3 separate regions of the Homo sapiens genome follow, and all the other regions are linked to region 2. The links are contacts of gene promoters, found by promoter capture Hi-C in blood cells and fetal thymus (Javierre and others, 2016). All regions are on one chromosome and are shown on one strand. The core of a region is centred on a gene start or on the middle of the fragment in contact, and the rest is flanking DNA. Distances in the headings are between cores, read along the strand shown. Region 1 holds the start of NDUFS8 (NADH:ubiquinone oxidoreductase core subunit S8). Region 2 holds the start of PPP6R3 (protein phosphatase 6 regulatory subunit 3). Region 3 holds the start of CHKA (choline kinase alpha).

Evidence for each region. The method cuts DNA at HindIII sites, captures the fragments that hold promoters and counts their contacts. A CHiCAGO score of 5 or more calls a contact.
Region 1: the fragment with the promoter of NDUFS8 here is called in contact with the fragment with the promoter of PPP6R3 in region 2 in 10 of 17 cell types (total B cells, naive B cells, neutrophils and 7 more); the score reaches 12.4 in total B cells.
Region 3: a contact is called between the fragment with the promoter of CHKA here and the fragment with the promoter of PPP6R3 in region 2, in 5 of 17 cell types (total B cells, M0 macrophages, fetal thymus and 2 more). The highest score is 12.2, in total B cells.

Annotation. Positions count from the first base shown.
Region 1 is chr11:68,029,385-68,032,084 of GRCh38, forward strand. It overlaps NDUFS8 (NADH:ubiquinone oxidoreductase core subunit S8), which reads left to right and starts at 1,297. Exons shown (of 7, transcript NM_002496.4): 1 at 1,297-1,349. GLTC1 (glycolysis associated regulator of LDHA post-transcriptional modification 1) reads right to left here and starts at 1,050. Exons shown (of 4, transcript NR_197583.1): 1 at 909-1,050; 2 at 1-36. RefSeq lists enhancers at 1,038-1,332, 1,324-1,503. The HindIII fragment of the contact is 7,666 bases long and covers 1-2,700 here.
Region 2 is chr11:68,459,345-68,462,707 of GRCh38, forward strand. PPP6R3 (protein phosphatase 6 regulatory subunit 3) reads left to right here and starts at 1,408. Exons shown (of 24, transcript NM_001164161.2): 1 at 1,408-1,483. RefSeq lists silencers at 819-968, 1,279-1,648, 1,659-1,708, 1,759-1,868 and an enhancer at 1,079-1,138. The HindIII fragment of the contact is 4,553 bases long and covers 1-3,108 here.
Region 3 is chr11:68,119,316-68,122,685 of GRCh38, forward strand. It overlaps CHKA (choline kinase alpha), which reads right to left and starts at 2,073. Exons shown (of 12, transcript NM_001277.3): 1 at 1,513-2,073. The coding sequence starts at 1,862. It overlaps CHKA-DT (CHKA divergent transcript), which reads left to right and starts at 2,573. Exons shown (of 4, transcript NR_183630.1): 1 at 2,573-2,888. RefSeq lists enhancers at 1-372, 798-927, 1,068-1,197, 2,046-2,811, 2,812-3,370 and silencers at 1,348-1,477, 2,048-2,477, 2,828-2,927. The HindIII fragment of the contact is 18,960 bases long and covers 1-3,370 here.

The sequences.
Region 1 (2,700 bases), core at 47-2,546, 430 kb before region 2:
CGCAGGAATCCCCGCAGGCATCCACGCAGGAATCACCTGATGAAGGGCCAGGGTCAGGTGTGGGCCACCATCCCAAGACCTCCCTTCTCTCTAGGGCCAGCCCCTCTCCTCTGAGCACCTGCTGACCAGCCCAAAGCCCTCTCCACTCCTCAGCTTGAACTCCCCCAGGGTCTCCCTGTGGCCCACAGGTCCTTTGGAGGCTCGGGCATCTGCATGCAAATCCCAAACCACTGTCCCCTTTGCACACACTGAGCCTGCCCTTGTCCTCGTCCTGGTCTACCATGCGTGTCCTCCCTCTGCACGGGCATGGGACATGCCCTCTGCCTCCTTCCTGTCCTGGCCTGCCCAACTCCTACCTACCCTCAGCGCAGATCCTCCCAACACACACATGCAGGCAGCCTCGGGGCCTCTGCGGGTCCCTCTACCACAGCATTCCCGGGGAAAGGCCCGGCGTGGTGGCTCACGCCTGTAATCCCAGCACTTTGGCAGGCCGAGGCAGGAGGATCGCCTGAGTCCAGGAGTTCCAGACCAGCCTGGGCAACATGGCGAGACCCCGTCTCTACAAAAAATACAAAAATTAGCCGAGCCTGGTGGTGGCAGGCGACTGTGGTTCCAGCTGCTCGGGAGGCTGAGAAGTGAGGATCACCCGAGCCTGGGAGGTCGAGGCTGCAGTGAGCCGAGATCGCACCACTGCATTCCAGCCTGAGCCACAGAGCCAGATTGTCTCAAAAAAAGAAAAAAAAAAAAAAAAAAAAAAAAATTCGCTGGTAGGAAACATAGGCTGGTTGAGTACGGGAGTCATACAGATCAGGTGGATCAGGCGGCCGCACACCGCAGCTCTACGGCCCGGGAACGTTACTAAATACTCCCATGCCTCAGCTTCCCGCCTTAACGTGGTAACACGTTACTGTAGTTTCTCCACGCAGAGCTGCTGTGAGGATTAAAAGAGGCCGCGTGAGTTGAGCATCTCGTCGCCATTACCGTCATCACACGCCCCCCACCCAACCCGGCGGGCCCACCCTCTGCACCCACGGCGAAAGCACTCTTTCTAAACCACGCCCCGGATGTCCCGCCTCCAGCGGCTCGGAGGTCTTCACTTATTGGCCTCCCCAAACCAACATGGCGGCCCCCTACAAACTTCAAGCGCCGGTCTCTCCTAGCCAATCAAAAGAAAGATATTTCTGAATCCCGCCTCTTTCAGCAGCCTTGCTGGCCAATCAGACCACACCATGAAGCATCAATACAGAAAAGGGGGAACCCGCTGGCCCAATGGCAGCGTCCTACAGTGTAGCCTCCGCCTCCCGATTGACTGGCCTGCTTGGCAAGGCAAGTAGCGGCGGCGCTTCAAGGTGGGTGTTCACGTTTTGGCCGTGAAAGTCGGGCTTGGGCAGCGTGGCGTCGGGGGCGAGTGTGGTGTCCCCGTTGGCGCCGCCAGCTCTGCGCCTGGGCTTCCCCTCGGCTCACTCAGGATCCGCGGCCTCCGTGTCCTTCAGGTGCAGCGGGGAGCCGGCTCTCAGGGCGCATGCGCCGCCCGCTCTGCGCCACCGGCCTAGTTAGGGTCGGAGATCACTGGGAAGGTGGGGAAGGTGCTGGGTTGGGTCCCTGGAACTGCAGTCAGTGATCCAAAGGAGTGGGCCTGTTAGGGGGTTCACAGGTCGTGGGATGAGCTCTTATGAGCGCCGGCTAAGTGCCGGGCTCTGGGGTGCCCTTGGCATGTACGGGCTCCCCTAATTCCCAAGACCAACCGCCCCCAACCCACTTCATAGGTGAGAAGACGGAGGTCAGGTCACATCATCTGCCCAAGGTCACGCGGCAGGCTGGGGGACAGTTCCAGGAGGGCCTTGAAGCTGGGGAAAGGAATGTGGTACCGAGGACTGTTCAGGCCTTGAAGAGTTTCCAGCAGGGCAGGGCTGGGTTCCGATCCTCGGCCCACCTCCTTATCGTGTGACTTCCGACAAGTCACTTTTTTATCTTTTTTTTGAGACAAGGTCTCACTCTGTCGCCCAGGTTGGAGGGCAGTGGTGCAGTCTGGGCTCACTGCAACTTCTGCCTCCTGGGTTCAAGCGATTCTCCTACCTCAACCTCCCGAGTAGCTGGGATTATAAGTGCCCACCACCACACCTGGCTAATTTCTGTATTTTTTGGTAGGGACGGGGTTCCACCATGTTAGCCAGGCTGGTCTCAAACTCCTGACCTCAGGTGATCCACCTGCCTCAGCCTCCCAAAGTGCTGGGATTACAGGCGTGAGCCACCACACCCAGCCCTAGCGAGTCACTCAACAAACTGAGTCCCAGCGCCTTATTTGTGCCTCCCTCGTGGAGTCCTTGTAAGGATAGGATGGCAGCGCTTTCCACCCCTGGGCACGGTTCCTGGGGGAGGAGAGCTAACAAAGTTCGCTCTCAGTGCATGCTGGCGGGGGCTGGTAATGTTGTTTTTGGTTAGATTTGGGGAGGATGAAGGGAGGAGCAGAAAGGTGGGAAACAGGATCTCTGGGAGGGAGAAAGGAAGGATGGATTTAAAAGGTTTCTTAGGTGAGGCAGAACTTGGGGTCCACAGAAACTGAATTGTAGCTCAGCCAAGCTGAATCAGATGGAAAGCTGGGAGGCGCTGGGAACAGGAAAGCCATCTGTGCCTCTGACAGCAATGGGGTGCGAGTAGAGGGCAAAGTGACACATGTCAGTGGAGACTTGGGATCCTTGC
Region 2 (3,363 bases), core at 158-2,657:
GGGTCTAACCGTGGGCTGTCTCGGTGTCCTGGGCTGGCTCTTGGGGCGGGGGTCCTGATGTCCGGGACCTCGGTCCTACCTGGGAGGCACAGATATGGCGGGGAACGGGAAGCCCGGGGGAGCATTTAGAAGCTCGTGTGCACAGGGAAACCCTGTCTCTACAAAAAAATTAAATTAGCGGGGCCCAGTGGTGCGTGCCTATGGTCCCAGCTACTCGGGAGGCTGAGGTGGGGGGACTGCTTGAGCCCAGGAGGTGGAGGCTGCAGTGAGTCATGATCACCCCACTGCACTCCAGCCTGGACAACAGAGCAAGACCTTGTCTCAAAAAAGACCCCAGGCCAGGCGCGGTGGCTCACCCCTATAACCCCTGCACTTTGGGAGGCTGAGGTGGGCGGATCACCTGAGGTCAGGAGTTCGAGACCAGCCTGGCCAACATGGTGAAACACCCGTCTCTTCTAAAAATACAAAAATTAGCCGGGCATGGTGGCGTGCACTTGTAATCCCAGCTACACGGGAGGCTGAGACAGAACTGCTTGAACCTGGGAGGCGGAGGTTGCAATGAGCTGAGGTCGCACCACTGCACTCCAGCCTGGGGGACAACAGGGAAACTCCGTCTCAAACAAAACCAAACCCCAAAAGTTCTCGTCTAAGTCCTTCTCCCAGGACAAGGGCACTTATCTCTTGGCGGTGCGTCACAGGTAGGGATATTCCGCGATCCCTCACCTTGACCCCGCTACGAGGACAGCCACCTCTTTCAGGTAAAGAGATCGCAATGGGAAATCATTCTGATAAAAATTCCCCTGTGGAGAATGCAGGCATCGATCCCGTTACCTCTCACATACTAAACGAACGCTCCTCCACTTAAGCTGATTCCCTAGCCCGGCCTAACCTTTGCAGCCGGCGCATATTGTGGCTCACGTCACCACCGGTGTCCCCCGCCGCCCCCGCCCCGCCCGGCCAGCTCGCCACCCTATTGGATCCCTCACGGCTCCGGCTCCACGGCCATGATGGGCTTGGCTCAATTTAGTTTTAAAAAGCATTGGCCACTCGGATTGGTGGTCCGAAGCGTCCGTCAAGCGGAGGACCTGCTGTTGCTACGGCGTAGGGGGTCCCAGCCAGGTTTCTCCCCGTTTCTGATTTGTTTCTCAGGCTCCGGGGTCCTAGAGGTTCCGGATCCGTCAAGTCCATGGGAAAAGAATGCGCCCCTCGCGCTTGACTGACGAGGCTTGCGGGCCAATCGGAATGTAGTCAAAGGAGCCGCTAGGCGATCCAATAGGTAGTAGGGGGCGGGAGAGAGGGGCCAATGAGCCTGGAGCTGGGGGCGGGGGCAGGGCCGCGATTGGCTGAGAGGCGGCCAGAGGGCGGGCGGGGGGGAACTCAAGGCCTGCTTGATACGTCCGCCATTTTGGGCGCTTCGCTGATGGTGTCGGTGAGCGCGTTTCCCGCCTGAGCGCAACTAGCGGCGGGTCGTGGGCACCTCCAGGTAATGGGGGTAGGGGAGGCGCCGGAGCAGGCCGCGGCGCGGGGTGTGCGAGGCGCGCGGGCAGGCGCGGGGCCCCTCCACCTGGCCTCAGCGGCTCAGGGAGGGAACGTCCCGGCCCCTCTCCCCTCCCCCCCCGGAATTCGTCGCTCCGCGGGCCCGGGAGGCGCGGCGCCGAGTCCTTCCCGGCCGCTCCCCGTCCGCTCCTGTTAGCCGGGGGCCCCGCCAGGACGGGCGCCGGGAGCGGGACGCGGTCGGGGCGGCGACTTTGTGCCTCGTTGACGTTCGCGGCCTGGCGCGGCGGGCGGGCGAGGCGCGCCCCTGACCCGGCTCTGGCTCCAGCCTTCCCGCCCGCCGGCCGCGGCCCGCAGTCTCGCCCCCCGCCCGGCCCGCGCCCGGTCTCCGCTCCCGCTGGGCCTCCCGGGGGCCTCGGGGAGCGCGTCAAGTTGAGGCAGCAACTCGCCGTCAAGAGTCGCGAAGACCATTGTTGGACTCTGCTCTTCGGGAAACAAGTTTTGTGGGTTTCTGTTAATTCGCCGCAGAGTCATCGGGATCCACACCAGCCAGTTCCGAGGCTCCCAGTACCCTTCCCAGTGGCTTTTTAACTCCTGTGAGGTGGCTTGTATGTAAACTGTCTCGAATGCCTCCCTGGTGTATTTGAGCCGGGGGTGGGGGGGGTGGGTGGTCCTTCTTGTGGCTTGAAGTCCCTCCCTCTTAAAGAAGCCCATTCACTGTTTACTTGGAGGTGTTTCCTGTTGAGGTCCTGCTGGCTGTGATCACAATTTAGACTTTTTAATTATAGGTGAACGGGATGGGTCTTTGGATGTACCTCCGTGCCCTGACGTTTCAACCGCGTGACTTAATGTCATTTTCCTGGTACTTCACGTTTTCTCTGTGGGGCTTTGGGTCTGTTTTGCTTTTATGGGAGGGGGTGCTTGACAGGCGTTCCCTTTCATCCTCGCAGCACTTGTTGACGGGGTGGTGTCCTTTATTCGTGGGACGTTTACTTTGATTTTGTCCTCAAGGTCATGTTGCAGATAGGCTTCAAGGGGGACAGGGACTCCAGGTTTCCAACCACCGAACTGTGCCTCAAGTAGCAAGTGTATGAGACCCAGTTATGGTGGTGGTTGGGTTTTCCTCACTGTGGAGTGGAGTCAGTGACCACTTTTTAGCTCTGTGACCTTGGGCAAGTTACCCAGCTTCTCTTTTTTTTTCTCTGTAGTATGGGAATAATAATAAGTGTCCCAGCCATAAGTTTGTCAGGATAATTGCCCTAATACATGTAAAACAGCTAGAGCTGTGCCTGGCACATACAGTCACCTCAGTGGCTGATTAGTGGTTAGGCTAGTTAATGGCTATTATTGTTTAATTTAAATTTGATTTTTAAATGTTTAGGTACTATTGGGAAGTCAGATGAGCATTTGAGTCCCGACTCTTGGTGACTGCCTTTAGAAAGCTCTGTGTAAGACTCAGTTGGGCTGAAAAAGTAAAACTATAAGTTATTTTAATTTTTTCAGGACAGGGTTTTTGACCATTCCTTAAATTAGGAACATTTACCGGAGTAATTAATGAGTAGTAGCGCCTCATAATGTTTAAAGAGATGGTTAAATACAGAAAAGCCCATCACAAGCTTAAGTCGGGCTTTGTTCCTCATGTGCTTTTGGATACTAGTTTCTGGGTGACTGCCACCCGAATCAGTAACTAGGGTTTCTTAGTGTAAGTCCTCCTTGTTACTGAAAACTGTAAGGGTGCCGTGGATTGCAGTATTCTTCAGCAAAGATAGTTTGGGAAATAGCTTTTGTCCTGGAGGGATACTTTGGAAGGTATTCTCCACTTCAGCATGTCTGGTCAGGGAGTCTAGAACATTGAACAAAATGCCTGCA
Region 3 (3,370 bases), core at 823-3,322, 340 kb before region 2:
AGCGGCTCTGGTGAAAGACAGTGGGCACAGAAAAGGAATCAAATGACCAAAACTGGACTTGGGGATTACTGGTGGCAGCCAGCCAGCAAATTTCTAGATACTGCACACAACCTGTCAGCCAATTAAAAGAAAATTGGCAGAAAATGACGGAACACGTTCTTTGTTTTTGTTTTTTTGAGACAGTCTCTCTCTGTCAAAGGCTGGAGTGCAGTGGCGTGATCTCGGCTCACTGCAACCGCCGCCTCCCAGGTTCAAGCGATTCTCCTGCCTCAGCCTCCCAAGTAGCTGGGACTACAGGTGTGCGCCACCATGCCCAGCTAATTTTTGTATTTTTAGTAGATATGGGGTTTCACCATGTTGGCCAGGCTGGTCTCGATCTCCCGACCTCGTGACCCGCCCACCTTGGCCTCCCAAAGTGCTGGGATTACAGGCGTGAGCCACTGCGCCCGGCCCGGGAACACATCTTTAAAGGTCTCAATAGAAGGATGCACACACTACGTTGAATGGTTATGTCTTCGGAGCAGAGTGGTGAAAGAAGGTCAGACTTCTGTTAAGTCTGAATACCTACACGCGTACTTCTGTAATTCAAATTTAAGATTAAATATTTTCAAGTTTAAAAAAAGGAAAAAATGGCCGAGCGCGGTGGCTCATGCCTGTAATCCCAACATTTTGGGAGGTCGAAGCGGGTGGATCACCTGAGGTCGGGAGTTCAAGATCAGCCTAACGAACATGGAGAAACCTTGTCTCTACTAAAAATACAAAATTAGCCGGGCGTGGTGGCGTGTGTCTGTAATCCCAGCTACTCGGGAGGCTGAGGCAAGGAGAATCGCTTGAACACGGGAGGCCGTGGTTGCAGTGAGCCGAGGTCGCGCCACTGCACTCCAGCCTGGGGACCAAGAGCGAAACTCCGTCTCAAAAAAAAAAAAAAAAGGAAAAAACATTTCTACCTTACTCTTATTTTAGGAGCCACGCCTCCCACCTTTGTCTAGTAACACAGCTATAGTGATGTCTCTTAGGGGATGAGAAAATGCTACTCCTCCACTAACAATGACTCTTGGAGAGGGAACAAGACATCAAATCGCGAACTCGAAAAACTAACAGAAAAAAGTTAAAAAGTGGTTTGTGTTTTTAAAGCCAGCCACAACACCTTCATTCAAGGCCCTAAACCGCAGAGACTTTCTAGACCTATCTTAAGCGTCAGTACCACACGCACTTCGTGATGGAACGGTATTGTTCTCCTAGAACAGACCCGTTTTCTCATGAAACCGACGTTTTTACAAAAGCCTGTTTGTGGACGGCCTGCGGCGGCCGCGAACCCGCTTCCCTTGGATTACCCAGGGCTGGGAGAAGGAGGGCTTTCGCCGGCTGCGGTCCCCGGTCCCCGGCCTCCGCCCCGGCCCCGGCTCCCCCGGCCCCCGACCCCCCCGGCCCACGCCCCCTGCCCGGACCCCGCCCCGGCCCCGCCCCGCGTCACCTGACTGTCCCGCGGCCCCCAGACCCGGCGCCACCGACCTGATGACACTGATGTGGAACTCGTCCTCGCGGAGGCCCCGCCAGGCGCCGGGCAGGAACTCCTTGCACCACAGATAGGCCCTGCGCCGCGTCCGGGGCTCCGGCTGCTCGTCTGCGGGCGGCTGCGGCGGCGGGGGCTGGGGCAGCGGCAGCGGCAGCGGCAGCGGCGGCGGAGGGGGCAGCGCGAGCGGCGGCTGTTGGCCGCCCAGCTGCTTGGACTCGAGGTCGCTGGCGGCGTCGCGCTGCTGCCCCACGCCGGGCGCCGGGGCCGCGCTGCCGCTACCGCAGCTCAGCAGCAGCCCGAGCGGCGAGGGCTCCGCCTCGCCCCCGGTGCAGAATTTGGTTTTCATGCCCGACAGGCGGCCGAGGAGGCGCGGGCGGCCGCAGCGCGAGAGGACTAGGCTCAGAGTCCGGCCGGGCGCCCCCTCGCCGCTCTCTCACTGGCAGGCCGGCGGGGCAGGGGGCCGCGGCGGTTGGGCGCGCGGGGCGGCGGCGGCGGCTGCGGCGACTGCGGCGACTGTGGAGCGGGGATGTGCTGCTGGCCGCTGCACTCGCTCCTCTGCCGCCGCCGCACGAGGAGCGCCGGCCGCGTCACAGCCCGCCCTCGCGCTCGCCACTGATTGGCCGCCGTCCGCCGGCCCGGCGCATCATAACCGCCGCCGCCCTCGCCACACCGCCTCCCCATTGGCTGCGGCGCCGCCCCCAACCCAGAGCGCTGCGGCCTCCGTGAGCGGGGCCTGGGCGAAGGGGGCGGGGCGTCGAGGGGGCGCCCCGGCGGTCGCAGGGAAGGGGGAGAGGGGAGCGAGGCGCGGGGGGCGCCGGGAGAGCGCCTCCGCGGTGGGACGGAGCCGGACTGGGCCGAGCGAGGGAGGCTCCTGAGCCTCGGAGGACCCCGGGGTTGGCTTTGGGAGCTGAAAGTTTCCTTGGACCCCTCGGAAGCCCCGTGACATCAGAGGCCGGGCCTGGCAGGGGCAGGCAGGAAACGTGTCTGGAGGCTACTGCCCTCTCCGCGTGACCTTGGGCGAGCAGCCTCCTCCTGGGGCTCAGTGGGTGTGATTTTGTAACATTTCCCAGCGCTGCCACAGGCGCGTCTCGCCCTGTCCAACGCGGAGCCCGAAGAATTACTAAGAAACCGAGGTCTGAAGGAGGGAAGAGGTGACGGGCTCGAGGCCACACGGTGGGCCAGGCTGGGCCCGGCTGCACGCCGGCTACCGGGGCCCAGCCCTCTGCACGCCTCCCGCAGCCTCAGTTTCCCTGTCCGTGGTACTGAGGATGCTCGGGCCTAGAAGTTCAGGGCTGGAGGCCCAGGGACCGTCGAGGGAGGGGCATCATCCCCGCCATGGGGCCGCCGCAACTGCCCAGAGCACAGGCCAAAGGTGCGTGCCACGGGGCTACTGGCGTTGTGGACGCTGCCCCTGCCTCCCCATCCCCCGCAGGAAACAGCCTTGTGACCGTGACTAACGCACCTTTGCCGGGGTAGAGGGGCAAGGGCCCCTGCTACCGTTTGCCACACACTGCCCCATGTCCCTCACTGCTCCCGTCCTTCCTAGAAGTGAGGTGCTGATACATATAAAAATTATGGATCCCATTTTATGGGACATGAGCTGAAACAGGAGGTTTCCTGGGCTGCCAGGGGCTTAGGAAATCCAGTGCCTGATACACAGGAAATGCTTCTATGTGGGGAGTTCACAGTCTTCCAGAAGCAAAAATGTTTTTTGGTTTTTTTTTTGAGACGGAGTCTTGCTCAGTCGCCCAGGCTGGAGTGCAGTGGCACGATCTCGGCTCACTGCAACCTCCGCCTCCCGGGTTCACGCCATTCTGCTGCCTCAGCCTCCCGAGTAGCTAGGACTACAGACGC